Regions from separate parts of the Homo sapiens genome. Here region 1 is linked to region 2. Evidence: promoter capture Hi-C in human tissues and cell types (Jung and others, 2019). All regions are on one chromosome and are shown on one strand. Each heading gives the region's core, a stretch centred on a gene start or on the middle of the fragment in contact. The rest is flanking DNA. Distances are from core to core; before and after follow the strand shown.

What was found. Contacts are between HindIII fragments. The study calls those that stand out against the background at their distance.
Region 1: a fragment that was not itself captured here is called in contact with the fragment with the promoter of COA5 in region 2 in 1 of the 25 tissues and cell types used here (mesenchymal stem cells).

Annotation. Positions count from the first base shown.
Region 1 is chr2:97,998,592-98,003,222 of GRCh38, reverse strand. It overlaps LOC124905591 (a long non-coding RNA gene), which reads right to left. Exons shown (of 2, transcript XR_007087148.1): 1 at 4,329-4,631; 2 at 1,282-2,170. Among named protein-coding and RNA genes, the nearest start is that of TMEM131, 5.0 kb to the right of the region's middle. The HindIII fragment of the contact is 3,554 bases long and covers 448-4,001 here.
Region 2 is chr2:98,606,620-98,611,163 of GRCh38, reverse strand. COA5 (cytochrome c oxidase assembly factor 5) reads left to right here and starts at 2,652. Exons shown (of 3, transcript NM_001008215.3): 1 at 2,652-2,857. The coding sequence starts at 2,759. It overlaps UNC50 (unc-50 inner nuclear membrane RNA binding protein), which reads right to left and starts at 2,575. Exons shown (of 6, transcript NM_014044.7): 1 at 2,438-2,575; 2 at 1,125-1,408; 3 at 269-389. The coding sequence starts at 1,404. RefSeq lists a silencer at 2,348-2,447 and an enhancer at 2,511-3,500. The HindIII fragment of the contact is 3,715 bases long and covers 1,052-4,544 here.

The DNA of each region.
Region 1 (4,631 bases), core at 975-3,474, 610 kb after region 2:
CTATTAATATTTCCTTGCCTGCATAAACTATGAAAGGGCTTCGAAGCATCAAACTTTTATGACAGTGCATGGTAACCATTGTTAATGTATTGTATTATTGAAAATTGCAAAGAGAGTAGATTTTCAGTGTTCTCACCACAAATAAGAATGTATTAGAGGTAATGCATATGTTAATTAGCTCAATTTAGCCATTCCACAACATATACATATTTCAAAACATCATGTATACAATAAATATATACAATTATTGTTTGTTAATTTAAAAAATTAGTTTTAAAAACTTTAGGACTGAATACAGATGCTCACCGTAATGTAGACTAAAGGTGAAACAAAATTATTCCCCTTGAGATTTTGCACAGACTATTTCTTTGCTAACATTTTTAAGAATAATTCAAACACTTGTTAATTCATGGTCATAAAGACTTCTGACCAGCCATGGTGTGTGGTTTTAAAATATCAGATTTATTTTATTTATTTGTTTGTTTTATTTTTATTTTTTTGAGATGGAGTTTTGCTCTTGTCACCCAGGCTGGAGTGCAGTGGCACAATCTCAGCTCACTGCAACCTTTGTCTCCTGGGTTCAAGCGATTCTCCTGCCTCAGCCTCTCAAGTAGCTGGGATTACAGGCATGCACCACCACGCCCGGCTAATTTTGTAATTTTTTTTTAGTAGAGACGAGATTTCACTATGTTGGTCAGGCTGGTCTTGAACTCCTGACCTCAGGTGATCCACCCGCCTCGGCCTCCCAAAGTGTTGGGATTATAGGCGTGAGCCACTGCACCCAGCCTATCAGATTTAAAATACTAAATTTAACTTGTTAAAGTACCAGAAATTAAAGTAATAACATTTAAAGGAAGTAGAATTTACCTTCTGGAAAACACTGCACAGGTACGTGTGTGCGCTAGCTGTGATGCCTGCCCTCAGACCACCCTGCAGAGGCCATGCAAAATGGCCAATTCTCGATTCTTCATTTAGGGAACTCACACCAGACTTGGCAGAGAGAATTGTGTCTCTCCTACCTTATATTTGTCTCTGCAATTGTCATTATTTTACTGTTTTAATTTTTTCATTGTTTCTGGTATTTATCTGCATCTTGAATATGTTGATCTTTGCCTTTACTTACTATTGCTGGGAATTTTACAGTTACAAGCAATTAAATAATAGGGAGAGGGAGAAACACAAACATCCCTCAATACATTGTTCAATGGCCTTTTTTTCCCCTGAATGGCTTTCCATGGCTGTTAGTTTCCACCAAGCAATGCAATATTAAGTACAGTTGAATGACGGGTGAGGCAGGCTTCTTTAATAATGGTGTTTAGGAACATTCAGAAACTCAGGGCAGCCTAAAAATCAACTTTAAAGTACTCATCAGTACTAGAGAGGACAATGGTAAGGGGAGGTGGAAGGAACAAGAAAAATACTAGGGTATTATTTCCCTCCTTTTAATTGAAAGACTACCAAACCACATGACATTTTTCAAAAGTCACAAGATTAATAATTAAATGTTGCAGGAGAGAAAAAATCAGAGTGGCGCTGGAGCCTATTGTGGAGGAGTTGAAAGGGCAGGCCAAGATTTTGATTCATGTTAAACTTGGCTGTTTGTCCCAAAAAACATTTCTAAAGAATGCCAGAAAAATAAATATAAGCTTATAAACTGTGTCAGTCAGCTTGGAAGGAAAATATTGAACAAACCCATCATTAATTCTCACATCTAAATCCAGTATGTTTATTAGTAAAGGTATGTATGTGTTGTGGTAGTGGTCATTGATGAGATCTTAGTTCATGTAGATTTAGAAATTGCAAAGGAATCTAGTTTTCCTGAGGAATATATGAATAAGGATCTTCAAATATGGGATCCACACTGATACAGAGCTCGGCCCACATGCTCAGAAGCTACTACCCTCATCCTGCTGCATGAACTTGACTGAGGTCTATTTGCCCTACCCTAGGTTACCATAATTTACTACTAAGTTGAACAGACTTAAACCTTAGGCTTCGTGAGCTGACTTTTTTTAAGAATAACACCCAGGGAAACCTCCCAAGGAATAAGGGACACAGGAGACAAAATAAGCAGGTTACTCTTCATCCTGAATAAGACAGACAAGATGCCATATTCCTTCTTACTCGCTTGACTGCTGTGGGCTTCAGACTAGATGAAAGAGACAGAGAACTGAAAATAAAGAAAAATCAGTTAAAGAACTTGAAAAGGCTGGGTAAATAAAGAAATGAGTAGAACCCAGAGTTGCCTTCATTTAATACTCCTCCTCTTTCCTCCTTTGATTCATTTCTTCCTATTCTACCATATTTTGTATATGTCTCTTATTTACCAGATTTGAAGCTCCCTGGAGGAGAAGGACTATGTCTTCGTGATCTTTATCTTTTAGTTCTGTTCATTCATCCATTCATCTATCCATTCATGTAATAAGTGTTATTGAGTGCCCAATATGTGCCAATATTGTAGAAGCTCGGAATTCATCAGTGAGCAAAACGAATGGGGGGAAAGATTGGTAATAACAATACATTTAATGAGTAAGTAAAGTATATAGTATTATAGAAAGTGATAAGTGTTATGGGGGGAAAATGAGTGCAAGGTAAGGAGGATTGGGTCTTGAGGGTAGGTGTAATAAGCTGCAGTATTAACAGTGGTGATCAGGGTATGCTTCGCCAAGAAAATCATAACTGAGCCAAGACTGAGAGGAAGTATGACAGTGAGCCCAGCAGAGAACCAGGGAGAAGGGGGTGGGGAGAAAGCACTTCAGGTGGAGGGCTAGAGGATAGACCCTGGAGTAGAAGCATTCCTGATATGTTCCAGGAACAAAATGGTGGTCATTTCAGCTGAAACAGACCGAGCCTGGAGGAATCCAGGAGGAATGGAAAGACCGGGGCAAGCCAGATCAAGGAAGCTTTTACCCTGAGATGGGTATTCAAATATTCCCTGTTATTGCTTTTTTTAATATACAGTCTCTAAAAATTAAAATTTCACTTTCCCCAACTGCTTTTAAAAACATTAAGCAGGCCACTGCAGGATGTGAACATTGAGAGACGTGACATGTCTTATGTTTTAAATGGATCATGCTGGCTGTCAGGTTGACAATAGACTATAAAAGTACAAATTTATGTCAAAATATAAAGCAAAGCCCAACAAAACTCAAAAAAAAAAAAAAAATCAAAGATGAGTTTATATACTGCCAGGGGTGGATGTAAACACACCAGTGAAAAAGTTCACTGAGTAACTCATGAATTAGGAAAAGTCAGGGTTTTTTAAGTGTGAGAAAGAGAGAAGGGAGTTTGGAGGTTATGCGGATTAAGGGCTGGAAAGTAGTGCTCTGGATAGGTTGGAATAGTGTTGATAAAACATGTCCCTTTGTTAACTGGTCAGAAAGGAGTCTTTGGTTAGGTCTAACAAGGGTCTGGTATGGGGTCACTCAAAGTTCACAGTCCTTGATCTGCTTCAGTTGGTTAGAACCAGTTGTGGTAGAGCATAGCATTCCGTTTTGATATCTACTATGCAAGTGTTGTAAGTGGAAAATTTTCTTTTACAGGTGGAAACAGGGAAACCTGTTAGGAAGCTCTTGCAGAAATCCAGGCAGCGGATGACAGGGCTCATACCAGAGTGGAGTAGTGCAGGTGGTGAGAAGCAGTTAGATTTGGGTACATGTGGAGAGAGTAAAGAATGACTCCCAGGTTTTTGGCCTGTGCAACTGGATGGTTGGAGTTGCCCTGGAGATAGGAAAGGCTGTGGGTGAAGCATGTTTGCATGGGAAGATGTGGAGTTCATGTGAGTTTAAGACACCTCATTATACACCTGAGTGGGAACAGCAATAGAGACAGCGAGGTCTGGCTGGTGACATGAAGTGGGGACCTGAAAGTGTATAGATGGTGTTGAACGGCAGGATACCAGGTGCATTCACCTATGCAGCAAAGGAGATAGAACCCTGGAAAGCCCAACAGTTTACTCCCTCCTAGTTCCAGTTTTAATTCATAGAAGGCATTCTTGCACACCTCCTTAAGTATTTTGTGGAATGAAGTGGAGGTATCAATGGATCAAGGATCTTCGTGCCTAATGTGGTGTTTTGAAAAGAGTGAGTGCTCACTAATAGCTACTTTTGACAGTCTCCTATGTCCCAGACACTAGTCTATATGCTTCACAAACCTATATGCTTAATCTCCCCAAATTTATATCATAATCCCCATTTTTACAGATTAGGAATCTGAGGCCAGAAAAGTCATTTGCTCAGCATCATATAGCTAGTAAAGGCAGGGATGGGATTTAAGTTCAAATTTGTCTGAGTCTCTTATAATTCTGCCTTGAATGGTAAATTACTAACCTGCATAGAGAGCAAAATGAACAGAAAGTGAGGAGTCCCAACAGCTTGTAGCTCCTGGCATATATCACTGTGCAACAGTCTTCAATCTTGAGCCTGTATCAGAATCACTTGGATGCCTTGTTTAAACAGATTGTTGGACCTCAACCCAGAATTCCTGATTCCACAGGTCTGGGATTTGGCCTGCTAATTTGCACTTCTAACAGGTTCCCAGGTGTTGCTGCTACAGCTGGTCTGGGGATGACACCTTGAGAACCACTGGTTTAGCGAGTTTTCCCTGACTCTGCCAGCTAATACCTCCACCTG
Region 2 (4,544 bases), core at 1,403-3,902:
AATTGAGACCGATCTCAGATATTTTGGGTTCAAAACATAATTATTTCAATTATTTGCTACATTTGACAATATTATAAACCAGCCTTTATAGTATTTTCTGATATAGGTGGCAACACAGGAGGGAAAATTGTAATAATCTTGGCAGTCAAAATTGATCATTTAGTAACTCTACCTGGGTTTCAATTTCCATCTGCTGCTATTGTACCTCTGAAGCAAACAAATGGAGATGCTACAGCAGTATCTGAAAAACCAAAGTTATGGTACTTACCACATTAAAGTTGCTATCAGAAGACCAACGCCTACACAATCTATGAGTACAACCCAAAGGAGAAGCTTTATTGTCTCAAAGAATCCCATGTCCAGCACAAAGCCAAATCCTATAGTGGACACTGAAAGAAAGATTCACAAGATTCATTTAGGGACTCTGCTAGGTTCTGGAAATACAGGACACATCCCTTGCCCTCCAGATGCCCAGGCTAGTGGGAGAGACAGGTCTTTAAACAAAACTCCCAAGATGTGTGAACACTACCTTGGGACACAGCGTGGCCACTGAGAGAGTTGAAGTTTCCTGAGGTGGGCCCTTGCCAGGCTGATTCACCACGGTGGCCTCAGTATTTAGAACGCCAGTGTAGAGAAGGCACTAACATAGTTTAAGTCCAGTTAAGGTGCAAAACACCCTATAAACTTCAATATCTTACCCACTTCAACACCCTACAGGTAAATGAGACCCTTGCATTATGGAATTGGAGAACTTCAGTTTCTCAGGTTCCCATCAATACCTTTACAATTCTCACTGTGGATTTGCCTGTGAAATGCAATTTCCAGTTTCATATTCCTATTCACAGTCAGCTGACATTTGGGTACCGATTCAAGTACTTAAAAAGATATGGAGTGAATCTTGTCCCCTGCTTTTCAATGTCCTAGGGTAACAGTTTACTCTGGCATCTGCTTGGGACCTGTAGAACCAAGACTACAACTTTCTTTCCTGTGAGATTTTTTGAGGCTTCAGTAAAAAGGAGAAATAGTTTCCAATATTTCCAGATTCTGACCCACAACACATTTATAACAAAAAATCTAATCAGAAACACTCAGCGTTCAATTCTATCTCAGATAAACACACTTACCACAGAGCCAGATACTTAACAGGACCAAGAAAGCAGGGTCATCTCTGGCCCACTGGTCCTTCGTCTGTTTTCGATAATGAAAATTTCTGTAAACTCTCTGTGGGGATGTGAACAGGTAGAGCATCTGCCAGGCAGCAAATTCAAAGTCCATTTGCCGAAAGCGGAAAAGCCTTCTCAGATATTTGTAGCGTTTCGCTCCGGCTGTGTGTCTTGCCGCATCCCTGGAATTCAAGACTCCGTTCCCCTGCACTAAGGAATTCACTGAAGTACTCGGTAACATCTTCCTAGATGGAAGAAAAACATTTCTTTTACACGTATTCTGAAGAAACATTTGGCTACCGACACTCCTCTTCTGAGTTATTTGGCAGGGAGGTCACTTTCCATGTTCTTCCCAACCCTAGAGAAAGGCCAGGAGTCAAAAGCAAATGCAGTTAGTTCTGAGGCGGGTCTTGGGGCTTGGGAACCGCAGACTGCAACCTCAGGCAAGGGCAACAGCCCACCCTTCTGAATCACCTAATAACACTTATCCAGGGGCAGCTACCATTACAGAGACAGGGATGATGTGACTGCCCCATGACTCCGAGGATAGTGATAGAGCCAAGATTGGAAATCTGACTCGAAATTCCGTGCTCTTAACCACCAAGCTTTTAAGAAAATGCCTAAGAAAGCAGTTTCAGCCGGTTAGAACAGTGTTACTGAAGAGGTCAAATAAATGGCCTATTCACACAGATCCATCAGCGCACTGCCAGCAAGCTTCTCGGTCACTAGAATGAGATTAAAAAACCAAGAAAAACTCCGATCCCTAGTGTTTTACATCCGGAATAGTTCAGCAGAGGGAGCGGTAGCGTCGGAGTCCAATCCAACCGGTCCGAGCTCCGGGGAACGCCGGCCACTGCCCGGCTGCCCGTCTCCCCTCCACTTCGCAGGCCCCCCAGACGCCGGCAGGGTCTGGCCGAGCCCAGCTGCTCCCTCCCTGCCCGGGGCCGCGGGTACGGCTGCCAGATTTAGCAAATAAAAACACAGAATACCCAGCTCCATTTGGATTTCAGACAGGCCACGAATAAGGTTTTAGTATGCCTACATCCCACGCAACATTTCGGACATGCTTATACTAAATGCTCTTTCTTTATCTACGATGCAAATGTAACTGGGCGTCCTTTCATTTTAGCCGCAACTCTATCGCCGGCCGAGGGGCCGGACGCCGACATGGTCACTGCCAGGCCGCAGCGACGTCAGGCCGCAAGCTGTCGGGATTAAATGGCCCCCGGCGCGAGCCCGGGCCGCGGGAGGGCAGAGTGGTCCTCAGGCCTCACCTGGAGTCCTGCTACAGCCTCGACCCACGTCCGAACCAGCCCACCACCTCCTCCCAGCAGCCGACCCCAGCCGCCACCGGGCGGGCTTCCCTTCCCTCAACGGAGCCGGCCCTTGGGGCGCGCCGCGTCACGGGAACCGACTTCCGCCGCGGACGCGCCACCTCTCGGCCCCCGTAGTCCTCGGCCCTACCGCCGCGGCCCGCCGGAAGTTGTTGCCGCTGGCTTCCGGTCCCCTGAGACTGGGGCCTCGCTCGCTCCCGACCCGGTTGCAAGTGTTGCGGTGGGAGAAAGTCGCGTCCGCATCGGAGGGGAAGCGCCGTCATGCCTAAGTATTATGAGGACAAGCCGCAGGGCGGCGCGTGCGCGGGCCTGAAGGAGGACCTGGGCGCGTGTCTGCTGCAGTCGGACTGTGTGGTCCAGGTAGCGCGGCCGGGCGCTCCCGGTGGTGACGACCCCTGTCCCAGGCAGGCCTGGCTCGGCGGAGGGCAGCGGGTCGCCCGCGGCGGCGGTTGGAGTTAACCATCCCGGGCGTAGGTCACAGCTCGGGCTCACTGAACGTGCGCAGATCCACTGAGCTGTCGGAGCCCCAGTTCCCTGTGGGGTTAAATCGGAGATAACGATAAACGCACCCTGTCGGGTTTTTGTAAAGGTTAACCCATTTCAGTTCACGAAGCCTTTATTGAATGCTAGCACTCTACTAGGCTTTGGAGACATAAAGGAGAATAAGCCAGGTTTCTTGCCTGCCTAGAAATGATAATCTGTAGAATTAATGATTCCAGAGAGTTGCGTAAACCTGGTACACTGCCCTGGCCAGTAGTGTCTCCTGCCTGTTCAGTTGTGACAATGTGTGCTCAGTTTGACTTGTGTTGATGTGAATTTGTTTCTGAGTTACAGTTCTCTGCATTCTTGGATGTTAAGTTGTAAAAATAAGGCAACTCCATATTTTCACGATTTCGTATCTTGCTTCCCCTACACTCTTCCTTCACTCCCCGGCTACAGACACAGGTCTCCTCAGCACCCTCTTGGAATGCACTGAAACATGTAGTGAGGTTCACAGTGGACCTGAGTTCTGGATTAGAGCTCAAGTAAAGCACAAGTGCCTTTTCCAATTGCAGAGGCCCGACGAGAGGGCATTCAATTGTGTGCAATTGTCTTTGCATTGGGGGATGTAGTTTCAGAAAGTTGCTGTTATTTCAGAGAAAAGATTACCCCCAAATGGACATCCACTGTAAGACTGTACCAGTGTTTCTACCGAGTCACAATTTGTTTGGTTCACTGATTTTAGCAGTCAGCCATTCTCGCCTCCCAATGTCTAGTAAAACTTGAGTTATTATAAATTTAAGAGATTATCTCGCCCAACTTCCTTATATAAATGAGGAAACTGAAGTACCGTTGTTTTCAGGCTCCCCTGTCCAGGGCTGTGTCCCTTCTGCCCCTTACTCACTGGTGCTGCCGTTCAGCCAGCTCCTGGTAAATGCCTCTTAAGTGGCAGGCATGGTACCTGACACTGGTGATAACGAAGATGAATCAGTAACAGTCACTACCCATGTAAGCTTGGTGTCATGGGAGAAATAGACATCTAAGGGTCTAAATTCCTGCCATAAGACTGTAAGCATTTATTAAACATGTGTTTAATGACTAGATCTTGAGGAGAAAAATGCGTTAGCCCAAGGGAGAGCGTCTGATTTTGCTTCAGAATTTGGAATCTTCTGAGATGACATTTGAGCTGAGTCTTAAAAGTTGAGTAGTAGTTTATCAAGTAAAGGAGTGGGAACTGTTGTGGTTGTGGGGAAAATCTGAAAGAACAGCAAGTGCAGAGGCAGGGAGATGTGGGAGGGCGCAGAGGAGCTAGTGTCCTGCCATAGGGGAATGCGACAGAAGGCCTGAGGGGAAGGTTGCAGCCAGGTGTGAAGGCCTGTATGTGTGTCAGAGTGAGGAGACTGGATTTTATCCAGACGTTCAGCATCGGAAGGCCATGTTGATGAGTAGTCAAGGGAAGAAAGTACACTGAGTAGGACTGAGGAAAGAAACTCCAAGTGGAGGACAATAGCAGCAGCACAGAGAATTCCAAGCTGGCTTTCTGCAGCGGTTGATACAGCAAACATGT